5 separate regions of the Homo sapiens genome follow, and regions 1, 2, 3 and 4 are each linked to region 5. Evidence: promoter capture Hi-C in human tissues and cell types (Jung and others, 2019). All regions are on one chromosome and are shown on one strand. The core of a region is centred on a gene start or on the middle of the fragment in contact, and the rest is flanking DNA. Distances in the headings are between cores, read along the strand shown.

What was found. Contacts are between HindIII fragments. The study calls those that stand out against the background at their distance.
Region 1: a contact is called between a fragment that was not itself captured here and the fragment with the promoter of NRDE2 in region 5, in 1 of the 25 tissues and cell types used here (hippocampus).
Region 2: a fragment that was not itself captured here is called in contact with the fragment with the promoter of NRDE2 in region 5 in 2 of the 25 tissues and cell types used here (dorsolateral prefrontal cortex and hippocampus).
Region 3: a fragment that was not itself captured here is called in contact with the fragment with the promoter of NRDE2 in region 5 in 2 of the 25 tissues and cell types used here (dorsolateral prefrontal cortex and mesenchymal stem cells).
Region 4: a fragment that was not itself captured here is called in contact with the fragment with the promoter of NRDE2 in region 5 in 1 of the 25 tissues and cell types used here (dorsolateral prefrontal cortex).

Annotation. Positions count from the first base shown.
Region 1 is chr14:91,050,801-91,054,748 of GRCh38, reverse strand. All of the region lies in intron 1 of RPS6KA5 (ribosomal protein S6 kinase A5), which reads left to right. Among named protein-coding and RNA genes, the nearest start is that of RPS6KA5, 7.9 kb to the left of the region's middle. The HindIII fragment of the contact is 3,602 bases long and covers 92-3,693 here.
Region 2 is chr14:90,910,816-90,914,642 of GRCh38, reverse strand. The region is part of intron 7 of RPS6KA5 (ribosomal protein S6 kinase A5); the gene reads left to right. Among named protein-coding and RNA genes, the nearest start is that of LINC02321, 85 kb to the right of the region's middle. The HindIII fragment of the contact is 8,995 bases long and covers 1-3,827 here.
Region 3 is chr14:91,070,869-91,074,665 of GRCh38, reverse strand. It overlaps a transcript of DGLUCY not described here. Among named protein-coding and RNA genes, the nearest start is that of RPS6KA5, 12 kb to the right of the region's middle. The HindIII fragment of the contact is 9,066 bases long and covers 1-3,797 here.
Region 4 is chr14:90,867,726-90,871,241 of GRCh38, reverse strand. RPS6KA5 (ribosomal protein S6 kinase A5) reads left to right here. Exons shown (of 17, transcript NM_004755.4): 17 at 1-3,516. Among named protein-coding and RNA genes, the nearest start is that of LINC02321, 41 kb to the right of the region's middle. The HindIII fragment of the contact is 3,292 bases long and covers 204-3,495 here.
Region 5 is chr14:90,329,931-90,333,837 of GRCh38, reverse strand. NRDE2 (NRDE-2, necessary for RNA interference, domain containing) reads left to right here and starts at 1,897. Exons shown (of 14, transcript NM_017970.4): 1 at 1,897-1,997. The coding sequence starts at 1,934. RefSeq lists a silencer at 1,664-1,813 and an enhancer at 1,964-2,143. The HindIII fragment of the contact is 6,388 bases long and covers 1-3,907 here.

The sequences.
Region 1 (3,948 bases), core at 643-3,142, 720 kb before region 5:
GAACTCCTGGGCTTAAGTGATTCTCCCTCCTCGGCCTCCCAAAGTGTTGGGATTGTAGGTGTGAGCCACTGTGCCTGGCCTAAAAGTCTTTAATTTTTTTTTTTTTTTTTTCTGAGACAGAGTCTTGCTGTGTTGCCCAGGTGGAATGCAGTGGCATGATCTTGCCTCACTGCAACCTCTGCCTCCTGGGTTCCAGCAATTCTCATGCTTCAGCCCCCTGAGTAGCTAGGATTACAGGCGAGTGCCACCATGCCTGGCTAATTTTTGTATTTTCAATAGAGACGAGGTTTCACCATGTTGGCCAGGCTGATCTTGAACTCCTGTCCTCAAGGGATCCACCTGCCTCAGCCTCCCAAAGTGTTGGGATTACAGGTGTGAGCCACCGCTCCTGGCCCTAAAAGTCTTTAATGTTGATGAAACCTTTTTTTTTTCTTTTTCATTTTATTCTTGTGTCTAAGAAATCATTGACTAATTCAAGATTATGAAGATTGATGTCTCTGTTTTCTTCTAAGAGTTTATGGCTTTAGCTGTTACATTTAGATCATTGATCCATTTTAAGGTAATTGCTGGATATCATGTGAGGTAGTGATTCAGACTCATTCTTCTGCATGTAAATATCCAATTGTTCCAGCACCATTAGCTGAAAAGACTATTTTTTTCTCCATTTTAATGTCTTGGCACCCTTATTGAAAATCAGTTGACTATAGATGTATGGGTTTATTTATTTTATACTCTCAGTTCTCTTCCAGTGATCTATATGTCTCTCCTTATAGCAGTACCATGCTGTCTTGACTACTACAGTTTTTTAGTAAGTTTTGAAATTGAGAAGTGTGAGTCTTATTCTTCAACATTGTTTTGGTTATTCTGGATTCCTTGTATTTCCATATGGATTCTAGGATCAGCTTGTTAGTGTCTGCAAAGAAGCCAACTCAGTGGCATTCTGATAGGGATCTCATTGAATTTTTAGTTAAACTTTGGCAGTGTTGCCATCTTAGCAATGTTAAGTCGTCTGATCTATGAACATGAGATGTCTTTCCATTTATTTAGGTTGTCTTCAATTACTTTCAACAACGTTTTTCCGTTTAAGGAGTATAAATTTGCACTTTTGTTAAATTTATTTCTAAGTATTTTATTATTTATTTATTTTTTGATGCTATAGTAAAAGGAACTAGTTTCTTACTTTTATTTTTGGATTGTTCATTCCAAGAGTATAGAGGTACAGTTTTTACCTTGTGTCCTGCAACCTTGGTGAACTAGTTTATTGGTTCTAATAGTTTAGTGGACACCTTAGGATTTTCTATTTATAAGATTGTGTTAGCCATGGATAGAGATAATTTTACTTCTTTCTTTCCAATCCAGATATCTTTTGTTTCAATTTCCTGCTTAATTGCCTTGGCCAGAACCTTCACTATGGTTCAATAGAACTTGCAAGAGCAGACATCCTTGTCTTATTCCTGATCCTAGGGTGAAAGCTTTAGTCTTCTACCACTGAGTATGGGGTTAGCTATGGGTTTTTCATAGATGTATTTTATCAAATTGAAGAATTTCACTTCTCCTCCTAGTTTGGGTGTTTTTTTAAATCATGAAAGAGTGCTGGATTTTGTCAGATGCTTTTTTCTGCATCTATTAAGATGACCATTTTTTTTGTTCTGTTCATATGGTGTATTACATTAATTAACTTTTGAATGTTAAGCCAACCTTGTATTCCTGGGATAAATCTTGTTTGTCATGGTATATAATCCTTTTTCTTTGTTGCTGGATTCAGTTTGCTTGTATTTTATTAAGGATTTGTATCTATATCCATAAGAAATCTTTGTAGTGTTCTTTTTTGGTGATACCTCTGTCTAGTCTCCCCAAAATATTCTTGATTGAGTTCTGTCACCAACTAAAGAGCTTTTTTTTTTTTTTTTTTTTTGGAGATGGAGTCTCGCTCTGTTCCCAGGCTGGAGTACAGTGACGCGAACTCTGCTCACTGCCAGCTCTGCCTCCTGGGTTCACGCCATTTCTCCTGCCTCAGCCTCCCAAGTAGCTGGGACTACAGGCACCTGCCACCACGCCCAGCTAACTTTTTTTTTTTTTTGTACTTTTAGTAGAGACGGGGTTTCATCGTGTTAGCCAGGACGGTCTCGATCTCCTGACCTCATGATCCATCCGCCTTGGCCTCCCAAAGTACTGGGATTACAGGCTTGAGCCACCGCGCTTGCCTAAAGATCTTATCTATTTGATTAGTGGTATCCATATTTACAATCTCTTAAGTAAATCTGTTTTTTTTTTTTTTTTTTTAAGAGACGAGTCTACTCTGTTGCCCAGGCTGGAGTGTGGTGCTGATCTCGGCTCACTATAACCTCCGCCTCCTGGGTTCAAGTGATTCTCCTGCCTCAGCCTCCCAAGTGGCTGGGATTACAGGCACCCACTACCATACCCAGGTAATTTTTTTTTTTTTTTTTTTTTTTTTTTTTTTTTAGTAGAGATGGGGTTTTGCCATGTTGGCCAGGCTGGTCTTGAACTCCTTACCTCAGATGATCCATCTGCCTGGGCCTCCCAAAGTGCTGGGATTACAGGCATGAGCCACTGCATCTGGCCTTAAGTAAAGATTTAACAGAGGTAGGGAGTGGACTGTAGTTCTAAGTCAGCCCCTAATTTGCTATATGACCTGGGATAAGTCATTTTGCCTTTCTGAGCCCAAGTTTTTTGATTCATAAAGTAAAGGTGATGGACTGAGTTATAATCAAAGTATTTACGAGCATTAAAGCTCTTCTGTGGCATTTCCATGGAAATTCTGGTATAGACAAAGTTAGTTCCTTGTCTTTTCCCGATCCTAGGGGGAAGGCTTTAGTCTTCTACCACTGAGTATGAAGTTAGCTGTGAGTTTTTCATAGATGTTCTTTCTCAGGTTGACAAAGTTCTCTTCTATTCCTAGTTGGTTTGGGTGAGCTTTTTCTTTTTTTTTTAAATCTTTCGGCCAGACATGGTGGCTCATGCCTGTAATCCCAGCACTTTGGGAGGCCGAGGCAGGTGGATCACCTGAGGTCAGGAGTTCGAGACCAGCCTGGCCAACATGGTGAAACCCCATCTCTAGTAAAAATACAAAAACTTAGCTGGGCACGGTGGCGGGCACCTGTAATCCCAGCTACTTGGAAGCTGAGGCAGGAGAATTGCTTGAACCTGGGAGGCGGAGGTTGCAGTGAGCTGCGATCGCACCATTGCATTCCAGCCTGGGCAACAACAGCAAAACTCTGTCTCAAAAAAATAAAAAAATAAAAGGATGTTTCATGATAAAAAGTCCAGAGTGGTGATTTACTTTATTGTTGTTGTATTTTAAAATTTCATTTTATTGAGACAGAATCTCACTATGTTGCCCAGGCTGGTCTTGAACTCCTGGGCTCAAGCAGTCTTCCCATCTCTGCCTCCCAAAGTGTGGAGATTACAGGTATGAGCCACCATTCCCGGCTAGTGATTTACTTTATTTATTTATTTATTTATTTATTTATTTATTTATTTATTTTTATTTAGACAGGGTCCCACTCTGTCGCTCAGGCTGGAGTGCAATGGCGTGATCTCAGCTCACTGCAACCACTGCCTCCTGGGTTCAAGTGATCCTCCCACCTCAGCCTCCCAAGTAGCTGGGACTACAAGTGTGTGCCACCACACACCGCCACGCTTAGCTTATTTTTGTATTTTTTGGTAGAGGTGGGGTTTCGCTATGTTGGCCAGGCTGGTCTGGAACTCCTGACCTCACGTGCTCCACCTGCCTCGACCTCCCAAATGGCTGGAATTACAGACATGAGCCACCACACCTGACCCTATGATTTACTTTAAAAGATCATCCTGTTTTACCAAAGGATTCATGTTGGATCTGTTGAAAAACAACAGTTCCCTGCTGCTTTTTGAATGTGGTTCCATTAATAATGATTTGATTTGTAATTAGCTTTTAAGAAACATAACTAT
Region 2 (3,827 bases), core at 48-2,547, 580 kb before region 5:
TGGAGTCCTGAATAAAAACCTAGGGATAGGCCAGGTGCAGTGGCTCACGCTTGTAATCCTAGCACTTGGGGAGGCCAAGGCAGGTGGATCACCTGAAGTCAAGAGTTTGAGACCAGCCTGGCCAACATGGCAAAACCCCATCTCTACTAAAGATTAAAAAATTAGCTGGGCATGGTGATGGGTGCCTGTAATTCCAGCTACTCAGGAGGCTGAGGCAGGAGAATCGTTGGAACCCTGGGGGCGGAGGTTGCAGTGAGCCGAGATTGCACCACTGCACTCCAACCTGTTGTGAAAGAGTGAAACTCCATCTCAAAAAAAAAAAAAAAAAAAAAACCCTAGGGATCATTCTTCCAACTGTGGAAAAGGTCCATCAGAAACATCATCAGTCTGCCTATCATTTCCCAGGCCTTCTTAGTCTCTCACCGGAGACCTGGCCCTCTGTTGTTTCCCTGATGATGCTGCAGTGTAGATTCTTTGCCGCCACCTCTGTGCACCACCCCAGCCAGTTCTCTACTGCTACAGTCAACCCAGAGTCTAAAAGGTCAGCCTCATACATACTGGAAAGGGCCGTGAAAGGAAGAAGGTAGTTTTCTGTGTTCACGACTCTGTCACACATTTTGGTCTCTGGATCACCTGCTGTTTCTCATGTACTCATGGTTCTCCATGGCCTCCCAAAGAAGGTCTCATCATTTTGGGTGATAATCTTGTCTCTATAGTCTGACTGCTGCTCTCTGCCTCTAGCTCTTTTCAGTTTAGCTTTCTCTTTGGAATTCCTTGCATTGAAGTCTGCTTCTGAGTGTCTTAGTTTTATTGTCACATGCAGCCACTTGGCTCCAAGGAACCCCCAAGGTCTGAGTTTACCACTCTCTTCCATCACTATCATCTTCCCCCTGTTAGGGAAAGGTAGTCTAAGGGCCATCATGGAATGATTGGAGAAGTAAAGGTTTAACAGCATTGTGTGGGCTACAGAAAAAAAAGTGTACAAAGGAAGAGAGACAGGAAGAGGTCTGGCGATAAAAGTCATACTAAGTAACTTTTAAATCTTATTTAAGACACTTCCAGGCACGTCTAACAAGCCAGTCTAGTAGCTCCACCAACAATCTAACTGTACAAGAGCGGTGAGGACCTCCAGCAGACCAGTTTGGTTCACTAAGGAAGCCTTAGCCATTGAGAGGAAGGGCAATTTTTGGCAATATCTATCACTTTTAGATAGAAGATGCTATAAATTAAAAAGAAAGCTCTTTTCAGCAAAATCTTTGCAGTATCATGCATTCATCTTTGGTTCCCCTAACTTTGTAAAAGAAACAAGTTTTTTCCTTCAGTCCCAGAAGCAATGGCCGGAGTGTGCACCTCTCAGATGGCTTCCCAGCAGTGTAGTAGGAGACCTGGTTAGTGTACTGGGCAGAAGAGGGAAATAAGATGCTTCATGTGGCCGGCCGCAGTGGCTCACACGCCTATAATCCTGGCACTTTGGGAGGCTAAGGAGGGTGGATCACTTGAGGTCAGGAGTTCGAGACCAGCCTGGCCAACATGGTGAAACCTCGTCTCTACTAAAAATACAAAAATTAGCTGGGCGTGGTGGCGAGTGCCTGTAATCCCAGCTACTCGGGAGACTGAGGCAGGAGAATCACTTGAACTCAGGAGGCGGAGGTTGCAGTGAGCCAAGATTGCACCAGTGTACTCCAGCCTGGGCAACAGAGGGAGACTCCACCCAAAAAAAAAAAAAAAAAAAAAAAAAGATGCTTTATGTGACAGTGAAGAAGAGTATTTATAGCTTACATAAGACATGCCCTGGGGACGACTCCCAGAGTTACTGGGTGGGTGAGACTTTTGAGTGCAGTCACAGATTCCACAGAAGCAGATAAGGATACCAGCCAAATAATCTCAATTTATTATTATTAATGACCTGGCTGGTGTGGCCTAGGGAAACACAGGTTAAGTGGATCAAGGAAGAACTCAGTAACACCAAAAGTGAAGTGACAGCCTGTCTCATAGCTAAAGGAAGACAGACTACTATAGAGTGACATCAACAGCACCGTTCACCTGGGGACCGCTGTGTGCCAGCCTCTGTGCTGAGAAGTCACCCACATTGTATTCTGGAATCCTCAGAACCCTGAAAAATAAGTGGTAGCATATGCAGTTTTACAGATGAAGAAACTAGGATGTAACTTGCCTGGGACTCAATGCTACTGTGAGGTTGGACTGGGATCAAATACAGAGTTACTGGAAAGTTACTCCATGCTGTCTTCACGGGTATCACTTGTTTCCATGCTGCTGTTTTCTTTCCAAGTCTGGCAGGTGCTTATTTCAGGTAAAAGACTGGGAAGTACTGGCCCACGGACTGCAGGGAATTGATTTCATTAATCAGTGGACTATTTGTTGAATAATTCTTTACTCCTAAGGAGAAAGAGAAATAGAGGGTAAAGTCCTTGTCCTAAGAACATTTATTTATATAGCATTTGGGAGGATATGGAATAAATACATGAAAATTCATAGTATCAGGGAGTTTTGACAAATGTCTGAGTGCTTTTAGGTAAGAAGAATGCTGGGGGAGGACAAAGGAGGTTTGGTTCCCTGGGGGTGGGCTGTCAGGGAAGCATTCATGATGGAGATGCGGACTGGGTTGGGTAGAAGAGAAAAGATGGTGGGGAAGTACCCCCAGTGGCACATGGGAGGTTCAGGACTCCATTGCCTCCTTGCCACTCTGTGTACTCCTGCCATTGGGTTCGTGATCTTGTAAGCGAAACTCATTTTATTGTTCCCACTCTAAATGTCATGTTCATTATAGTTTAAGATACGCATATGGGGTAAAGAGTCAATAATAACACGCAGAGACATATACTATTAATGTTTTGGTATATTATGTTTTATTCTTTTTTACTTGTATAATGTTGTACTCATACTAGAAATATAATTTTGTATTTTTCAGTTTTTGCTGAAATTTATGTCGTAAACATTTTGTTCTCTAATTAGAAAACTCTCTGTAAACATAATTTTGTAATGGCTGCTTAATGTACTATTGAGTGGATACACCATAATATGTTTCACTTTTCCCCTAGTGTTGGACAAAAATGTAGAGTAAGTGAAGCTTACTGAGAGCTGTTTCTAACTCAGGCAGGCACATAAATAATTTTATAATTCTGGGACCACATGGGAACCAGGAAGTGAAAGTCAAGAACGTTAAGTCATGAAATGGAAAAGATTGTGAACTTTTAAATGGAGGACAAATAGAAATAAATAAACAACCCATGAGAATGCATGCCATCTGCAGAAAAGCAAAAGAGCTATTGCAGGCATCTCACTGAAACTGTGAGGAAGAAAGGTCCTGAGTGGGCAAGATACAGTAAGTAGAAAACAATTTGACATTTATTTATTCACTAAATATTTGTTGAGGAGTTGCTATGTGCTAAGCAATGTTCTAGGCCCTGGAAATAAAGCAGTGAACAAAACAAAGAGAATTCTTACTCCATTAGAGCTTATGTTTTAGTTGAGAGAGATAAATAATAGACAAATAAACATATGGTATGCATGAAGAAAAATAAAACAGAGTCAAGGGATAAGGAGTATGGGGGTAATGGCTATTCTTGATAGGATGGTTAGAGCAAGCTTCTCTGAAAAGTTGACACTTGAACAAAGACTTCAGTGGGTTTAAGAGCATCCCCAGGCACAGTGGCTCACGCCTGTAATCCCAGCACTTTGGGAGGCCGAGGTGGGAGGATCATGAGGTCAGGAGATCGAGACGATCCTGGCTAACACGGTGAAACCCTGTCTCTACTAAAAATACAAAAAATTAGCCGGGCGTGGTGGAGGGCGCCTGTAGTCCCAGG
Region 3 (3,797 bases), core at 393-2,892, 740 kb before region 5:
AATGCTGTTTAAGTGATTTTCATGTTTTACGGTCAGTCTGTGGAATACTTAATTATGGTTAAGAATAGAAGGTAAATGTTTTTTAGCCATAAAATTATATGGGGCAGAAATTGGGAGGTAGATGTCAGAGAGAATCTGTCTGAAGAACAAAGATGCTGTTACCTTCATTCTTTTTTTGTTTTTTTGAGTCAGGTTCTCACTCTGTCACCCAGGCTAGAGTCCAATGAGACCACATCATAGCTCACTGCAGCCTCGAACTCCTGGGTTCAAGTGATCCTCCCACCTCAGCCTTCTAAGTAGCTAGGACTATAGGTACATGCCATCACACTCGGTTTATATATATATATATATATTTTTTTTTTTTTTTTTTTGAGACAGGGTATCGCTCAGTTGCCCAGGCTGGAGTGCATGGCACAATCACAGCTCACTGCAGACTTGGCCTCCTAGGCTCATGTGATCTTCCCACCTCAGCCTCCCAAGTAGCTGGGAATACAGGTGCTTGACTGTGTGTGTGTGTGTGTGTGTGTGTGTGTGTGTGTGTGTGTGTATATATATATATATTTTTTTTTTTTGGTAGAGATGAGGTCTCATTATGTTGCCCAGCCTGGTCTCAAACTCCTGGGATCAAGCAATCTGCCCACCTCTACTTCCCAAGGTGCTGGGATTATAGGTGTGAGCCACCGTGCCAGGCAATTTTTAAATTTTTTTGTAGAGATGGGGGTTTGCTATATTGCCCGGGCTGGTCTTAAACTCCTGGCCTCACACGATTCTCCCACCTTGGCCTTGCTAACTTCATTTATCTTCAATTTATCTTATGCAGTAAGACGGTCATAGCTCACTGCAGCCTCGAACTCCTGGGTTCAAGTGATCCTTCTGCCTTGCAGGTTCTTGAAGGTGTAGGGCTGAGGTCCTTGTTTCCTTGTTGGTTGTTGGCAAGGGAGCGGCTCTTAACTCCTAGAGGCTGCTCCTCAGGGCCTTTCCACTTGGTCCCCTCCATTTTCAAAGCCAGCAACCAGATAACCCTTTTGCATTAAAGATTTTTCATGCAGCCAGGAGCGGTGGCTCACACCTGTAATCCCGACGGGGATGGATCACTTGAGGTCAGGAGTTTGAGGCCAGCCTGGCCAATATGGCAAAACCCTGTCTCTACTAAAAATACAAAAATCTCTACTAAAAACACAAACATTAGCCTGGATGACAGAGTTAATTTTTAAAAAATTTTTTTGAGATGGAATCTCACTCTGTCGCCCAGGCTGGAGTATAGTGGCACGATCTTGGCTCACTCCAACCTCTGCCTCCCAGGTTTAAGCAATTCTCGTGCCTCATCCTCCTGAGTAGCTGGGACTACAGGCGTGTGCCATCACACCTGGCTAATTTTTGAACTTTTAGTAGAGATGGGGTTTATCCATGTTGCCCAGGCTGGTCTCGAACTCCTGAGCTCAGGCAATCCATCCGCCTCAGCCTCTCAAAGTGCTAGGCATGAACCACTGCACCTGGCCTGTAATTAACTTTTATGACATCTGCAAAATCCTTTTCACCACATAAATCACATAATCATGGGTGTAACACCTGGTGACAAAAGGCATGGGAGCCATCTTCCATCTTATCCTTCTATTCCACACTACTCAAGAAAAATGACTGTTATTTTTATTTTATGTTTTTTATTTTTTTTGCTGTCACCCAGGCTGGAGTGCAGTGGCATGATCTTGGCTCACTGCAAGCTCTGCCTGCCGGGTTCATGCCATTCTCATGCCTCAGCCTCCCGAGTAGCTGGGACGACAGGCGCCCGCCACCGTGCCCAGCTAATTTTTTGTATTTTTAGTAGAGACAGGGTTTCACCATGGTCTTGATCTCCTGACCTCGTGATCTGCCCGCCTCGGCCTCCCAAAGTGCTGGGATTACAGGCATGAGCCACCGCACCTGGCAATGACTGTTAGTTTTATATAGAATGAGCTTTTCTAAAAAGCTTTAGAAAGCACCATGAGGAAGTTTTGTTTTTTGTTTTTTTTTTTGGTGTCTCAAATCTCACTTTCTGGAAACAGCCATCAATATTTGGTATATGTCATCTGAATTTGGGCATGCAGAGCAAAAAGATCAATAGATAACAATGGAATTTTATTCTGCAAATTATTTTTAAGTAAAATTAAGTTTAATTTTACAGAAAACAGAAATTAAGTAAAATAGAAATAATTGCTGAACTTCAGCTAAATGTTTGTAAACCACAAAAATTCCTAAAATAATCCCCTTAAAGATAAGAAAAAACGAACACAAAAATCATCAAGAAATTAGAATCGTGTCTGTTTTAAAAAGCTGCAGTTCATGGAGTTCTTTTTTTTTTTTTTGAGACAGAGTCTCATTCTGTTGCTCACGCTGGAGTGCAGTGGTGTGATCTCAGCTCACTGCAACCTCCAACTCCCACATTCAAGAGATTCTCGTGCCTCAGCCTCCCGAGTAGCTGGGATTACAGGTGCATGCCACTATGCCTGGTTAGTTTTTTGTATTTTTAGTAGATAAGGGGTTTCCCCAGGTTGCCCAGGCTGATCTTGAACTCGTGGGCTCAAGCGATCCTCCTGCCTGGGCCTCCTAAAGTGCTGGGATTGTAGGCATGAGCCCCAACGCCTGGCTGGAGTTCATTTTTTAGACTGGATTATTTTCCAGCCATTAAAGATGAGTAAATTTACATGCTTAGAAATCTTCCAACTGCCCTTTCCCCTCACTTCCCCATTTTTGTTAGGTGTATAATTATGTTCACAGTATAAGAGTTTGGAATGTTTACATTTTGTTCTTTTTTTTTTTTTTGAGATGGAGTCTCACTCTGTTACCAGGCTGGAGTGCAGTGGCGCGATCTTGGCTGACTGCAACCTCTGCCTCCTGGGTTCAAGCGATTCTTCTGCCTCAGCCTCCTGAGTAGCTGGGACTACAGGCACCCACCACCACGCCCAACTAATTTTTGCGTTTTCAGTAGAGACGGGGTTTCACCATATTGGCCAGGCTGGTCTCAAACTCCTGACCTCGTGATCCACCCGCCTTGGCCTCCCAAAGTGCTGGGATTATAGGCGTGAGCCACCACGCCTAGCCTACATTTTGTTCTTTAACCATAAATTCCACAGCTATTTATTCTTGGTTCTGTATTTAAAACAATTCAAAACTCATCTTCAGTATTTTTTTTAATCCTCAATTCCTTCCTTGATTTCTTTATTTTGATTAATCTCTTGGTTGAATAATTTCAACGTAAAAAACTTTTTTTTCAAGAATGTGGAAACTCTTGAGTTAATTCATGCTCAAGAATGACTGCCAACAGCCTTTAGACTTCTTTTTTTTTTTTTTTTTTGGTGGAATCTCGCTCTGTTGCCCAGGATGGAGTGCAGTGGTGCAATCTCAGCTTACTGCAACCTCTGCCTCCTGAGTTCACACCATTCTCCTGCCTCAGCCTCTTGAGTAGCTGGGAATACAGGCGCGTGCCACCACACCTTGCTAATTTTTTTTTTTGTATTTTTAGTAGAGACGGGGTTTCACCGTGTTTGCCAGGATGGTCTCTATCTCCTGACCTTGTGATCTGCCAGCCTCAGCCTCCCAAAGTACTGGGATTATAGGTGTGAGCCACCACACCTGGTCAGCCTTTAGACTTCTTAAGGGACAATTTGGCAAAATATAAAATTCATGAGTCACAGCTTCATGCCCTTAAGTTTTATAAACCTTGCTTCATTGTCCTTTAACATTGTGTTGCTCTTGGTTTTTAAAAATCTGATGTACTTTGTTATTGATCACTCTGTACTCATTTTACCTTGACACAGTGT
Region 4 (3,516 bases), core at 600-3,099, 540 kb before region 5:
TTTCATTTTCTACTTTAAATTTGTCCTCACATTCCTCTTCTACTTTGTATGCAACAAGTAGAATGGGGCATGTTGTGTCATGTAGTCAGCCACTTATGCACCAATGTGAGGAAAACCTAAAGGGAAATTAAACTAAACACTGTGCTTCATATTTGTACACTGTGTTGTACTACAGTGAGGAATTTCCTCCTGTAGTCATATATTATGTACATAATATTTTAGAATCATACCTATGACTTGTTTGGAAATTTTTCTGTTAAATTTTAAATCCAGAAAGCATATTTTATAAACTTATGCAGAGCACTTTTATTGCTCAAAAGTTCTGAATTCATACAGAAAACAAGTACTATGTGATGAAAACATTTCATTAAAAGATTGCTGCATTTAAAAATACAATTAATTCGTTCCCTATGCAAAAAAAAAAAAAAAAAAAAAAGAAGTGATAGGGTTTGTGTGTTATATTTTCTTTTAAAGCCATCATGTGAAATGTCAGGACTGAGAAAAGTGATTTTTTTGCTTTGTTTACAGGAATCATGCTTAAAGAGATAATGCCCAACATGTTTATTTTATAGTTTTTGTTAATGATAACCTTTTGAGCATTAGTTTGGAATTTGGACATGATATTTATTTATTCCTTTCTTGAGGTTATAGCAGCATTAATTTCAACCAGTTATGAATACTAAAAATATTGCACTCTATGTAATAGTAGTATATTTATTACTAAATCAATGTATATATTAATAGCACAGGCAAAAAATGGCAAATATTAAAATATTTTCAAAATATTATATTATCCTGTTCACATTTTGTCCACAGTGGTTATTGGGAATAATATTTTACACTTTTTGCTGGCCCAAATGGCTACATAATATTGAGTTAATGAAAGTTTTCTACTCCCAGCTTTCAGTTATTCCTAGTAATTATGGGAAATTTTGTGTGAATTATTACCAAACTATTGCTAATTCACAAAATGTGATTCCATCAGGCACAGATCTCTAGTAATCAAGAAAATGACCATATTTATAATTATATTGGACATATTGGGAACATATTTGGCTCTTCAAGCCATTTTTTAAACTGTGCATCCTGGTAGAAAATACTAGTTATAAAGTACAAACTAAAGGGACTATGTTGCTAATAGAAAATGATCCAGAAAAATGGTCAGACAGTATACAGATTGATGATGTGATTGATTTCATTGTGAATATTGGAAATTAATGGGTTTCATTTTCATTTATTTCCCTTGCCTCTTCTTGAGGAGGATTCGACAGGCGATGAAATGGGTAAAAAGGCAGTCAGACTAACAGGAAGAAGGAAAGATAGGCTAGCTGTCAACTGATGAGCCTGCCTGAATAATCTCAAATGGGCTTTTGAAAAGACCTTAACAAACACTGTTGCACTCTTGTCAAATATCTTTATCTACACCCTACTTATAAGTACCAAAAAGACAGCATTTGATGCCAAGTTTGAAGCAGTTAGGTCCTATGCAGGCTGTGTATTAACATACAGTGAATTGCACTTTAAAATTCAGAAAGCTTTCATTTGGTCACATCAAAAATAAACACTACAAAATATATAAAAAGTTAAATGATAGGACTCTTTTTTTGGTATTAAGAGTAAAATAGAAGAAGATCTAAGAAATACAAATACTTACATTATTTCTCCTTATGACATTAACTTTGGGACTAGAGCCACACCACCCCCTCCCTTCTTCACTTACTGATTGTATTGCATATAATTTTCATGCCAACATAAATCCTGATTCATATATTTTGTAACTGTATATGACAAATTGAGAGGCAAGAATAAGAAAAGGAAGATAATAGAGGAAAGATGTTAAGAAAGACCAGTTTCTTCTAATTACTCTGCCAGATCGTGTGTCTGAAAGAGGTTAATTAGCATTTTGAAATTGATTGGCTGAGTGTGGTGGCTCAGGCCTGTAATCCTTGTGCTTTGGGAGTATAAGACTGGAGAATCACTTGAAACCAGGAGTTAGAGACCAACCTGGGCAACATAGTGAGACACTGTCTCTCCAAAAATAAAAATAAAAATTAGCTGAGCATGGTGGCTCATGGGAGGCCAACATGTGGAGGATCGCTTGAGCCCAGGAGTTCGAGGCTGCAGTGAGCTGTGATCACACCACTGCACTCCAGCCTGGGCAACAGAGCGAGACCCTGTCTTAAGAAAAAAAGAAATTCATTAATTCTTCCAAACCTTTATAAAGTAAGAAACCACTGAATTACTAGAATAGAAAGTCAGTCTCCTGAGTTAATTTCCACATTGTTGTCTGTCTTGGAGTCACAGGTTCATTACCCAAGAAAACTGCCTTTTAATTTTTTTAGATTACTGTTGATTTCTTAAGTATGTAAATGACTAACTTTTAAATATAAGGTAAGTTATTTTAAAGAAATCTACTAAGATAGAAGTCACTTTTTTTAAAGTAAGGAAATTCCTTTTGTATCTCAGTTTATGTTCTCAAATACACTACTTTATAAAAGTATACAATTGACTGGATACTTATTCACCTTGCCCCCATTTCAAGCGCCTGTTATTGTCATATTTATTAAAAACAGGGTACCTCATAATGGTGAAAATTTCTAAATTATTGGGTCTATATGTGCCTTAGACTGCCTGATTACTTTGGCTGTTCTCCCAGTGACTGATAATAATAGCATGATTTGAGTGTTCATGTGAGAATACATCTAATATTCCTTAAGATCTAAGTAAATAAGTTAAATTCTGATATGCCACTTATGTCAAAATAATTGTTATATAGATGAATTATTACTGTAACATCATGAAGTATCTTAAAATTATATGACTTTTGGCCTCTCAAATGTCTTACATGATAATACCCCAATTTCCAGTCTTTAATTGATTGTATACCTCACGTAAGTGTCTGTCATCACTTGATACCTGTATCTGGCACTAAAACAAATGTAGCCGGCTCTAATGAAATTTGAAGTTTGGATAGGAGACATTGTAAAACTCAAGAATGGGAAAAAAAAATTTTAACAGAAGTATGTATGAAGGAAATATTTTAAGTATAATCTACCCAAAGAAAATAACTGCTACAGCCAACATTAAAGGTTTTATTCCCTGTTTTGTTAAGTAACTTCACTCCAAATTGTGACATTCTTTAGAGAAAATATTTTCCTTAAGAGTAGTTATTTACGTGTTTTATTGGGGGAGCATATTTTCAGGGGGGCAACATCTTGCTAAGAACATTTGATTAGCCTCACTTCTGTCCTCACCTTCTATATTGCTTACTTTTCAAGATATTTCTTCTGAGCCCTTTTCTTTGTATGCCCAGCTCCCTGTTATGTAATTAAGTAGTTGATTACCATTCCAAATGCTTCCCCTACACAAGGCTGTTGTCCACCCTGTTTCATGAATTTGTGAATTAAGTAGGTGCCTAATATTTTCCTACTATTAGGGTGAAAAGGAATAAGAAACTAAAGTGGCTTCCAAATGTTTGTGTCTTGGTTTCTTCACCCTAGTGCAAAATAGGAAATG
Region 5 (3,907 bases), core at 648-3,147:
ACATTTGTAAGTACACAATATACCTAGTATACCCAGATTCCTTTGTATTACAGAAACATTATTATTATGGTTTTAATTTCTTAAAACTTCCATATTAATTCTTACTTTTCTGGGGTGGAAAGATAGGAGGCATTGGGATAGACTATTTCCATCCCAGTTACCTGAAGTGATCTGCTAAGAAAGACAAATGCTGCCCCAATTAATTGAGGTAACTTAGAGTCAAAGATTTTGGCAGAACCTGAGATTTAAAGTTGAAGACATACAGGAATTACTGCCCCTATTGTCATACTAAGCTCCTTTTTGTAAGTACTCTGCCAGGGACTTCAAAGCATTAAGGGTGTCTATTTTGGACTCATAGAACCTAATTCTTATGCAGGTCTGCAGACTTCATCAGAGTCCATCCATTCCTTGATTAGATGATTACATTTGCATCTCTGGTTTATAATGTATTTCCTAACTAAAGATCTTTAACTCCCTAGGATCCCAATAAATATATCTTCATTTACCTATCTATTTTCACTTGCAAATATTTCAGTATATATCTCTAATATATAAGAACTTTAAAAAGTAATCTCAGGCTGGGTTGGGGGGTGCTCAGGCACAGGCACCCAGCACTTTGGGAGGCAGAGGGGGGCAGATCGCTTGAGCCCAGGAGTTCGAGACCAGCCTGGGCAACATGGTGAAACCCTGTCTCTATTAAAAAAAAAAAAATTAAGCCAGACATGGTGGTGTATGCCTGTGGTTCCAGCCACTTGGGAGGCTGAGGTGAGGGGATTGCTTGAATCGAGGAGTTCGAAGCTGCAGTGAGCAGAGATCGTACCACTACACTCCAGCCTGGGTGGCAGAAGGAGACCTTGTCTCAAAATAAATAAATAAGGGTCACCTCAGTGACATAAGTACTTTAGTACATCTAACAGAATTCACAAGAATTACTTGTGAATTGCTTGTACTCTGCCTACCTTCTTATTTCTCCATCTATCTTAAAAAGGTCTTTTTACAGTTTGTCCAATCAGAATTATAATGAGGCCACAAATATGTTGTATTTGCTTGATGTGTCTGTAAGATCTTCGTATCTATTACAATCTCCTGCCCTCTTAAAGCCCTTGATATGTTAAGGAAGCACGGTTGTTTTCTATAATTTCCCATATTCTAGATTTGGCTAATTGTTTCTTGGTAGTACAAAGTCTTCTAAGTTGTTCCTTTACTCTCTATATTTCTGGTAGCAAGTGTGATTAGATTTTGGGTGGGAGGAACCGGGGTCAAGAATGCTTCACAGACAGGTATTTCCTAACTATCAAAGACCCTTGAACTTGATGGGACTTTCCATTTTTCCTTGTTCTGGGGTATTTAATATGGTAACCTGATTGAAGTTCGGATATCTCACATGACTTTGAGCCGAACTTGCAGTCGTAATTCACATAATAGCTAACACATATTAAGTGCTTTTCATGGGCCGGACTCAATGCTAGGCCCTTTATAAATATGTTCATTTAATCTTCTCAATATTTTGCAGATAAGGAAAGTAATGCTTAGAGCGTTTAAGTTGACCCAGTTAGCAAGGATGGTGTGAATTTAGGGGTCGAACTGGAATCCCAATTTCCTTAGTCCCTTTCGCGGTCAACAATTCCCTTCTCCGGTTTTCGCAGTTCCGGTTCTCACAGGGTCCCAACCACTAGGAACCCGTCACTCCTCGCTCCGCCCCCCTTGGCCCCGCCCCACCCTGCTTTGCCCTGCCTCTCCCTGCCCCGCCGCGCCCCAGTCCCTTGACGACCCTCCTCTCTGGGCCCCGCCCCTCCCGCTTCGGGGTCAAGCCCCAGAGAGCGCCGCGAAAACCACATTTCCCAGAGTGCACCGCGACGGCAGGGGTCCTCAGACCGGCGCTCGCTCGCCGGCGCCATCCCTATAGAGAAGAACGGAGGTACGGCCTGTGGTCATGGCGCTGTTCCCAGCCTTTGCGGGGCTTAGTGAGGCTCCCGATGGCGGGAGCTCCAGGAAAGGTAAGCACACAAACGAGCCGAAGAAGGCACCTGGGGGGCTTAAGAGGCTGTTTCTCGGGCCCAGGTCTAGACTTTTGCTTTGGATTTGTGTATCCATTTGTATCCCAGAGTTCTCCGCGGCGCTGCAAAGCCTTCTGGGAAAGGCTCAATCCCTCCGAGGTCTGGGGCCCAGAGGCCTGTTCTGGACCAAGGTTGTAGAGTTATGGAGGGGTGGAGAAAGACCAGCAGATGCCCTGGAGCTGGGACTTCTGTACGATGTTGTTAGGTCCTGTTCTTCTTTTCGAGCCTCAGTTACTTCATCTTTAAATTGGGAATAATGATACTCGACATCTCGAGGAAACCCTTGATGCAAATGCAGAATGTTTTTATTACATATTACTTCCTTTCCTGTTATACTTATTTCTGAAATGCTTATTAGATTGGTATTACTTAGCGGCCTAGAGCTAGGGGATTAGTATCCAAAACCTAATCAGTTTCTCTCTGGAGGGGCACAGCACCCAGTGAAAATAACTAACATTTATTCTTGAGGGCCTAGTGTGTATCAGGTTATGGCTTTACACATTTTACTTAAGTCCCAGACATTTCCAGCAGAGCTGCATTGTTCAAAATTGGGGTACATAGTTCATTTAAGAAGTAATTAATCCTGGCCAGGAGCAGTGGCCCACACCTGTAGGTGGAAGGATAGTTTGAGCCCGGGAGTTCATGACCATCATGATCAACATAGCGAGACTCCTGTCTCTTAAAAAAAAAGCCAGGCGTGGTGGTGCACACCTATAGTATCAGCTCCTCAGGAGGCTGAGGTAGGAGGATTGCTTGAGCCCAGAAGTTTGAGGCCGCAGTGAGCCATGATCGTGCCGCTGCATCCTGCCCTGGGGTGGGGGGACCTTGTCTCTAAAAAAAAAAGAAAAAAAAGTAATTCTAAATTATGTGCCATATGTGACAGGGCGCAATTGAGTCTTACCTGTCTGTTATATCCTCTAATATAGTTCCTACACTTTCTGTAACGTTTCTCCTAATTTTTTTTTTTTTTTTTGAGACAGGGTCTCACTCTGTTGCCCAGGCTGGAGTACAGTGGCACTGTCATAACTCACTGCCGCCTCAGACTCCTGGGCTTAACTTCCTGCCTCAGCCTCATGAATAGCTGGAACTACTGGTGTGCACCACCAGGCCTGGCTAATTTTTTTTAATATTTAGTAGAGACGAGGTCTCACTGTGTTGACCAGGCTGGTCTCGAACTCCTGAGCTCAAGCGATTCTCTATCTGAGCCTCCCAAAGTTCTAGGATTACAGGCATGAGCCACTGCGCTTGTCCTATTTCTCATAATTGTGAGTAATTTCTTGTGTAAAATTGTTGTCTTCCCTTACTAGACTGTAATCTCTATCAGGTTGGGCAGTGTTTGTCTATTCATTGTAGCATAGTTAGCCCCTAGCACAGGTCCAAAGTATAATAGGTGTTCAATAAATATTTTCTGGATGTACAGATCGATAGTAGTTACTTAATAATTACGTGTTGCAGGAATGCATGAGTGCACCTAAAAGAAGTGTATAGTACAAGGTGGGATATTACAGATACCATAGGTGAACTGCAGGATTAATTACTTCTTTTTATTTATTTATTTATTTATTTTTTTTTTTGAGACCAAGTCTTGCTCTGTCGCCCAAGCTGGAGTGTAATTGTACGATCTTGGCTCACTGCAGCCTTCGCCTCCTGGGTTCAAGTGATTCTCCTGCCTCAGCCTCCCGAGTAGCTGGGACTACAGGCACTCACCACCATGCCCGGCTAATTTTTGTATTGTTAGTAGAGATGGGGTTTCACTGTTTTGGCCAGGCTGGTCTCGAACTCCTAACTTTAAGTGATTCGCCCACCATAGCCTCCCAAAGTGCTGGGATTACAGTTGTGAGCCACCACAC